Regions from separate parts of the Homo sapiens genome. Here all the other regions are linked to region 2. The links are contacts of gene promoters, found by promoter capture Hi-C in blood cells and fetal thymus (Javierre and others, 2016). All regions are on one chromosome and are shown on one strand. The core of a region is centred on a gene start or on the middle of the fragment in contact, and the rest is flanking DNA. Distances in the headings are between cores, read along the strand shown.

Evidence for each region. The method cuts DNA at HindIII sites, captures the fragments that hold promoters and counts their contacts. A CHiCAGO score of 5 or more calls a contact.
Region 1: a fragment that was not itself captured here is called in contact with the fragment with the promoter of AJAP1 in region 2 in 1 of 17 cell types (total B cells); the score reaches 6.6 in total B cells.
Region 3: a fragment that was not itself captured here is called in contact with the fragment with the promoter of AJAP1 in region 2 in 1 of 17 cell types (naive CD8 T cells); the score reaches 5.6 in naive CD8 T cells.

The regions. Positions count from the first base shown.
Region 1 is chr1:3,917,738-3,920,437 of GRCh38, forward strand. No RefSeq gene overlaps it. Among named protein-coding and RNA genes, the nearest start is that of LINC01134, 19 kb to the left of the region's middle. The HindIII fragment of the contact is 5,645 bases long and covers 1-2,700 here.
Region 2 is chr1:4,653,273-4,655,972 of GRCh38, forward strand. It overlaps AJAP1 (adherens junctions associated protein 1), which reads left to right and starts at 1,337. Exons shown (of 6, transcript NM_018836.4): 1 at 1,337-2,182. The coding sequence starts at 2,154. The HindIII fragment of the contact is 10,824 bases long and covers 1-2,700 here.
Region 3 is chr1:5,483,792-5,486,491 of GRCh38, forward strand. No RefSeq gene overlaps it. Among named protein-coding and RNA genes, the nearest start is that of MIR4689, 380 kb to the right of the region's middle. The HindIII fragment of the contact is 6,615 bases long and covers 1-2,700 here.

The DNA of each region.
Region 1 (2,700 bases), core at 92-2,591, 740 kb before region 2:
AGCAACCCTAATCGGCTGAAGCCAAAGAAAGGACTTCAGATCTCGTAACTGCAAATCCTGGGGTCTAGCCTCATAACTGCAAATCCTGGGGTCTAGCCTCCCTCTCTGGTTCTTGTCACCTCCTCGTGGGCTTCAGTCCCAAGTTCCAGATCGGGGCAAGACATGGCCGAAGCCCAGGGCCCGCATCCTCCCAGATTCCAGCCACCTGGGAGTGTGTCTGTGGTCCCTGGTCTCTGACGAGGTCCTGTGCCCTGCCATTGGTTCCAGGGGACTGCCGGAGCTGATGGGTCAGGCCTGCACTGGAGCTGGGTGGAGTTGGCTCCATCCTGAGGTTACCCCTATGCCAGAGGGGCATGGGTGGTTCCCAGGGTAGGGAAAGTGTGTGCTGGGTACCCAGACATCGAAGCCTACTGTGCCTCCTTCTGTGACAAGGCATGTGTCATGTGTTGCTCCAGGATGGGCATGTACTCATAGATGGGGCTCAACAGGTTGAATTCTCCTTTCCCTCCTTTCCTCTGGCTTATGGTCATCCACTCTTTGGAGCTAGCCAGGCCAAGTTGGAGGATGCAAAGGTGAATGGGGACACTGGCATTCCAAAGGGGACCCGATATAGTTTGGCTGTGTCCCCACCCGAATCTTACCTTGAATTCCCATGTGTTGTGGGAGGGACCTGGTGGGAGGTGATTGAATCATGGGGGCAGGTCTTTCCCATGCTGTTCTCATGATAGTGAATAAGTCTCATGAGATCTGATGGTTTTATAAGGGGGAGTTTCCCCACATAAGCTCTCTCTCTTTGCCTGCTGCCATCCATGTAAGATGTGACTTGCTCCTCCTTGCCTTCCGCCATGATTGTGAGGCCTCCCCAGCCACGTGGAACTGTAAGTCCATTCAATCTCTTTCTTTAGTAAATTGCCCAGTTTCGGGTATGTCTTTATCAGCAGTGTGAAAATGGACTAATACAGGGCCGCTTTGCAAATATGATGGAGCCTCACATCCCACAGAGCCAGGCTCGGGCAGATCTCTGAGGCAGGCTTTCTTTGTGAAGAGCTGCCTTGTAAGGGAGCCACAGAAAACACCTGGATAACGTAGAAGTCTTTGCCTGGGGGTGGGGAGTCAGCACGTAACCTTCTTATTTTTGGAATAAGCTCATGTGTTTCTGCTCATGGGGGACGAAAAACAACCTGCAGAGGCGCTTCGCTGTGTTCACGCAGTAGAGTTCCCAGGAAACCCTGGAGCTAATTCCAGGTCAAATTCTCATCCAAAACACTGGCTGCAAACGGCCCTGAATGCTGGAGTGATGGCAGGTCGTGACCAGACAGAGAAGACCAAGAGCCCTCCCGGGTTAATAGCGTAGGGGATTTATTTCCAGGATCACCACCCCCGGACTTGCCAGGCAGAGGGCTGTTCCGAGCGGCGCTGGAGGACAGGGTGCCTGAGGGCATCTCATTCTCCCAGCAGGACACCCTGGTTGCTTCCTTCCCACCTCCAGACCTTTATTGGCAATTCACCCGCTACAAAGGGCTCGCCCTCCCCAGTGCTATTTGTGGCTTTGCTGCTCATGTGGGTCCCCTGCTTGGTTCAGAGGAAACCTTTGTGTGCCCGGAAGGCCACCAGTGGAGGCCAGCAAATGCTGCCATTTCACCCCAGCCCACAGTGCCAGCTGCTGTTGTGGGGACAGTCTTTTCCCTTTTCCAGATAGGGGCTGAAAGTCATCTGCGTCTGGAACCCTCCCTTTCTCAAGGACAGTGGCGGTGGAAGGGGATGCTCTGCCCTGCTCCAGGAAACGATTCTTCATGAGTGGGCACACAGGCCGTCTCCTGAGACATCCACATTCTCTCTCTGGCCACTTTGCCTGGTGATGAAGGCCCAGGTTGGCAAGGTGTCGGGGACATCAGGGAGCCTAGGGTTAGTGAGCATTGGCAACAGTGGCTACTCACATCCCAGGGATCAGGAGGCCTATGGGGAAAGACCCAGTGCAAGCCCCCTCCCATGCACGACAAGGGGCTGCCCCCAGTTCCATGGAGTGATAAAAATGCCCAGTTGTCCAGTCCCTGAGGCACTTTAACCACGCAGGACCAGCTCCATTTCCAGGACTTGCTCTAGGTATCTTCTCCCAGCCTGCAGCCCTGGGCTGTCTTGGTCTCTGGGCCCCTCACCCTATGAATGCCATGGGGCTGGGTGCACTCTGCATATCTACATGTCATGGCCACCCATGCCCCCGTCCTCAGGTATTCACTGGCTGGCACTTTCCCCTGCTCTGTTCTGCAGGTTTCAGGCTGACAATGGGCACTGAAGTTCCAAGGGCATTGGAAATAGCAACTAGCTCGCTTGCCCACCAGCCCGCCCTCCCTCCCTCCTTCCCCCTCCCTCCCTCCCTTCCTTCCTTCCCTTCCTTCTTCCCTCTCTCCCTCCATCCCTCCCTCCCTTCCTTCTTTTCTTTGTCTTTCCCTCCCTCCCTCCCCCTTCCCCTCTTTTTCTCCCCTTCCTTCCTCCCTTCCTTCCTCCCTCCCTCCCTCCCCTTCCCTCCTTCCCTCCTTCCCTCCCTTCCCTCCCTCCTCCCTCCCTCCCTTCCTTCCTTTTCTTTGTCTTTCCCTCCATCCCTCCCCCTTCCCCTCTTTTTCTCTCCTTCCTTCCTTCCCTCCTTCCTTCCTTCCTCCCTCCCTCCCTCTTCCCTCCCTCTCTTTTTCTCTCCCTCTCACT
Region 2 (2,700 bases), core at 87-2,586:
CTGGAGGCCTGGGGGTGAAAGGGCTGCTTGGGGGACTTAAGCCCCAAGCTATGGTTCGCCTGGGAGACTGAGCCCCAAGCCATGGTCCTCCTGGCTCTGCCCTTCCACCCCCTCACTGGCTGCCCCTCCCAGGGAGGCCTCACCTGTGAAGTGCTTCCCGCCCCTCTCACCCCCCACGGCTCTCACATGGCCTGGGGCGATTCCAGAGCTGGCCTGGGTCAAGCACCTGCACAGAGCACAGAGCGAAGGCTCGGCATGGTATATCCCCCGCCCCTTGCACCTTTCCCCAGTGAAGGGTGGCACCAGTGTCCTTTCCAAGGCCCGGATTCTGCACTGCCCTCAGCCTGTGGAGGATTAAAAGCAGGGTTTTGCCGTGGTTTCTCAAGGCGTCAGCGGGTCTGCAGAGGATTCCGCCCCATGTCACTTCTCTCAGTGAAAGGTCCCCGCCCAGCGTCTGTCCTCCTTTAAGTGCCCCCCATTTGTTTTTTGTTGTTGTTTTTGTTTGTTTTTTGCAAATACAGACTAACCAGGTAGGCACAGAGGAGTCCTGGCATGGGAAGGGAGCAGTGAAACGCCGGTGGAGAGTCCGGGAGGCCCAGATTCCCTGGAACTTTCCAGTGACTCCTCCGGAGCAAGGGCCTGGCCAGGCAGCAGCTGCGCTGGGCGATGAGGGACCGTTGGGTAATTGGGGGCATAGGACCGGGCTTCGCTGGGTTCGGGGCAGAAGCGCCGAAGCTCCGACCCGGAACGCGGTGACTTCATCAACGCAGAAGCCCGCGCAGCCGAGCAGAGGAGTCCCTCGTAGGCGACCCTCGGACAGACGCTCCTGCGCGGCCCGCGTGGCTCAGCTCCGCCCCAGGAAACTTTTCGCGCAGCCCCCGCTCCATGCGCCCCCACCCAGTCCTTCTTCGGGGCCGCCCCCTCCCCAAAGTAGCTCTCCGGGTCCACTGGGCGCCCCCGTAACCGGGTCGGAACCTCGAACGGCTTCGCGTGCCATCCGGTTACCCTGGCAACACCATCCGGCGGCGCCCGGCGGTCCAATCCTAGCCTGCGGCCTCTCTCGAGCCTTTCGCAAGGTGGGGACCGGGACGCGACCGGGGATGGGGAAGGGGGCTGCAGGAGGCCCCGCCTGCGCTGTCGCCCCTGCTGGGCACAGCGCCCCCCACCACCCGCGGCGACCCCGGCCCCCGCAAGGTGGGGCGGCGAGCAGGAGCCGGGGCCAGGCCAGGGGCTCGAGCTCCCGTTCGAGGGGCGGGGAAGGCGGGTGACGTGAGCCGGGCCGGGCGGGCGGAGTTGGGACCGGCTCCGGGAGGCGGGGGCGAGCGCGCGGAGAGGCAGACGCGAGGAGGGAGGCGGCTGAGCAGCGCGGGCGGCTCTGCGGCGGGCGCGGTGGGCGCGGGCGGCGGGGCCCCGGGATCCCCGCGCGCCTCCTCCGCGCGGCGCCGCCGCCGCGCGTCCCCACGCCCCGCGCTCCACGGCGCCCTCGCCCCGCGCGCCTCTCGTGCCCGCCTCCTGCCAGTCTCCGGGCCGCGGCCGTCTGCAGAGCGAGCGCTCAGACGGAGCCCCCGGGCAACTTGAGTGGCGCCGATCGGCGGCGGAGCCTCTGGCAGAGCCCCCCGACCCGGCAGCGCGGAGGGGACTCGCGTCCGTCCGCGTCGCGTCACCCCAAACCCTAAGCAGCGCCGCCCCATCGGCGCGGAGCTCCGGCTGGAGGCAAGAGCCGCGCGCCGGGAGACACGCACCGTGAGCGGCAGCGCCGCCGGCCTCCCTCCTCGCCGCCCCGGAGGGCGAAGCCGCGGCTCCCCAGCCCTTTGCTGCGCCGCGACAGCGCCGGAACACGCCCCGCCTCGCTGCCGCCTTCGCTGTGCCGCCGGCGGAGGGGGCCGCGAGCCCCGCGCCCCGGCCGGAGGATGTGCGCCCCCGCGGGCCGCCCAGCCTGAGCCATGCGCCCCAACGGCGGCGGCGCGCCGGCCGGCATGGAGCCCCGCGCGGCCGCGCTCTGACTCGCTGTGCGCCCCGCGGCCGGCGGGCGGCGGGAGGCGGCGGACCGAGAGCCGGAGACCGGCGCCGCGGGACGGAAGCGAGCGGGCGCGGGCGCCGCGCAGATGGCCTGGGCGAGCCAGGTCTGAGGCCCCGCTCCCCGAAACGTGACCATGTGGATTCAACAGCTTTTAGGACTCAGGTGAGCGACCCGGCCGGCGCCGGGTGCGTGTGGGCGCGTGGGTGCCAGGCTGGGCGGAAGCGGCGCTTTCCTCTATGTTGCAAATCAAGGGACCCCTCTTCGCTTCCCGCAAGCGGGCAACGGGGTGCACCGGTAGCCGGAAAGGGGCGCCCGCCCGGAGCCTGGAGCAGCACCGCGGCCCTGGCGGGGAGCGGCCGGGTCTCCAGGGTTCCGCGCGTCCGGGGTCGGGGCAGCGGCGCCCGCCCCAGCAACCCGGGAAGTGGGGCCGGCCAGGCGCGCCCGCAGCTCTAGGAGCCAGCAGCGCAGTGTCCTGGCCGGCTGCCCCGGCGCGCCTCCTCCCCGGGGCCCGGGGCGAGGCGCCGGCCGCTGGGCGCGGCGGGCGCGGGGGCCGGGGCTGCCGGGGAAAGCTAAAGCTCCGGGCTCCCAGCGAGAGCTTCGCAGGCGGAGTTGGAGGAAACCACAGCCAAACAGCCACTCCGCTCCCCCTTCTCCTTTCTCGGGGCCCCGGGGCTGAGCAG
Region 3 (2,700 bases), core at 172-2,671, 830 kb after region 2:
AATGTGCTCCGTGATTCAGGTCCACTTAATTTCTAGAATGCTCAGGTAGAAACTAATCATTAAAAACATGTAAATTAATTTACCCCAGGAGCTTAATAGATTAGCCATCGACTTTTTTCCTCCTTTTGGATTCTAACCTTTCACGGAAATTAATCACAAAGGGCTCAAAATAGCCACCGAGGATTAACATGCTCTGTTCAGTCTTGGTGAGTGGGAACTCAGGCCCAGCCCCTCAGAGAGGAGGAAGGATCCCCGCATCTTCACATTCCCTTTTCCCCTCCCAGCAGTCCTCTGTTGGATTCGATACAGCCACCCCGGGAGTGGCTGGAAGCCCCTGGCCACCTGACTCTTCCTTCACAGCAGTTACCCAGGAGAAGGGAAAAAAAGGTCTGCCACTTGTGACATTGGCAGCCCGCACCCCACTGGGTGGAAAGGTCAGCCACACACATTGCAAAGAGGAGGGCCTTCTAGGGCACACAGAGACATCCCTGCACATTCTTTCATTCATGTATTCACTCTTGGAGCATTTATTGAGTACCTACAATATACCAGGACCTGCATGGGTGCTAAGCACATCTAGATCAACGAGATCCAGTCCCTGCCCTCAGGGGACAAACACGGAATCACAGGATCTCATCAGTGTGGCTGGAGCAACCACAGAGCATCCTGGGAGCCTGAGAAGGGAGGTGTGAAAACTGCCTGGAGCAGGCCTTGAGGGCTCCATGGAGGAAGGGACACTTTGAGCTTTTTCTTAAGCACTAGCAAGCATTTGCCAAGGGGAGGAGATGCTCTCCGGGAGGAATGGAGGACAAATATCATGACGGCTACAGGGACCCTGGGGCCAGCAGACCCGGGTTCAAAGCCAGATGCAGCCTCTGACCAGCTGTGTGATGACACCGTCATTGGGCAAGTCACTTGCCAATGTTGACGGAGGGTGGATTGTGGATTGTGCAGTAAGTGGAGCTCTTAAGGCTGCAGAAATGAACACGCCGGGTGAGGAACGGTGGGCAGAGAGATAAATGAATGAATTAATTAAAAAATGGATAGAAGGATGAGTCGGCTGCCTGGTGAGGAGTTCTGCCCTAGGAGTAGTCACAGGACATGGGAGGGATGTTGGCTGCAGAGCGTGCTCAGATTTGCTGCTTAGAACTGCGTCCCCAGCAGCAGCCCTGAGGGGCTGAGTTGCCGCAGGACATAGCTGCAGAGCCCTGACCACTTTTCTTCTCTAGGTTGGTGCCTTTGTCCACGGCTCTGCTGGGTGTGGTCTTCTGTCTTTGATCTGAGGCCCTTACGGCAGTGGTCCCCAGGTCTGCCCTCACAAAACTGACATCTGCCTGTGGACACTTTGGCTCCTGGATTCGTTTCCTTTGGCTGACATAACCCATCACCACACAGCGCTCCTGCAGAGGACACGTGCTGAGCATTTCCAGAAGAGAGGAGAATCAGCAGCAAGAACCATGGGTGTGCAGCATAGCCAGTAAGGGGGCACGAATGGTTTGATTTTGGAGATTAAAGGAAAGGGCAACTCTGGGACAAGTGTGATATACAAGTTCCAGGTTCAAATCTGTTTGCAAGTTCCTTCCATGACGGGACTGCCGCTGTACTTCTTTCACACACACCTTGCAGCCAGCCCTCACCTGTGCAGCTAGTCCTTATCTCTGCAGTCAGACCCCATCTGTACAGTCAGCCCTCACCTGTCCAGCCAGCCCTTACCTGTCCAGTCAGCCCTCACCTGTCCAGTCAGCCCTCACCTGTCCAGCCAGCCCTTACCTGCGCAGCTAGTCCTCACCTGTCCAGTCAGCCCTCACCTGTGCAGCTAGTCCTTATCTGTGCAGTCAGACCTCATCTGTACAGTCAGCCCTCACCTGTCCAGCCAGAACTCACCTGTGCAGCTAGTCCTCCCCTGTGCAGCTAGTCCTCACCTGTCCAGCCAGCCCTCACCTGTCCAGCCAGCCCTCACCTGCGCAGCTAGTCCTCACCTGTTGTCAGCCCTCACCTGTGCAGCTAGTCCTTATCTGTGCAGTCAGACCTCATCTGTACAGTCAGCTCTCACCTGTCCAGCCAGACCTCACCTGTGCAGCTAGTCCTCACCTGTGCAGCTAGTCTTCACCTGTCCAGCCAGACATCACCTGTCCAGCCAACCCACACCTGTGCAGCCAGACCTCACCTGTGTAGCCAGCCCTCACCTGTCCAGCCAGCCCTCATCTGTCCAGTCAGCCTTCACCTGTGCAGCTAGTCCTTATCTCTGCATTCAGAGCTCATCTGTACAGTCAGCCTTCACCTGTCCAGCCAGACCTCACCTGTGCAGCCAGCCTTCACCTGTCCAAGCAGCCCTCAGCTGTCCAGCCAACCCTCACCTGTGCAGTCAGTCCTCACCTGTCCACCCAGTTCTCACCTGTGCAGTCAGCCCTCACCTGTCCAGCCAGCCCTCACCTGTCTAGTCAGCCCCCACCTGTCCAGCCAGCACATTGTCAGTGCTGGGCTCAGACCCAGGCTTAAATTGGCAGCTGTTGACATTACAAGCCTCAAAGTTGAGAGGAGCAGGCAGAGGAACGGGGCTTCTTTCTTCTCTCTGGGCACCTAAACAGGGGTTACCTGCAGAGGCCTTAGACCAGGTGATGGCAAGAAGCCCACTCTCCGCAGCCTGGGGCTGTCTGCCTCCAGGCCTCTGCACCATGACTTTGCAGGAGCCGTGCAAAC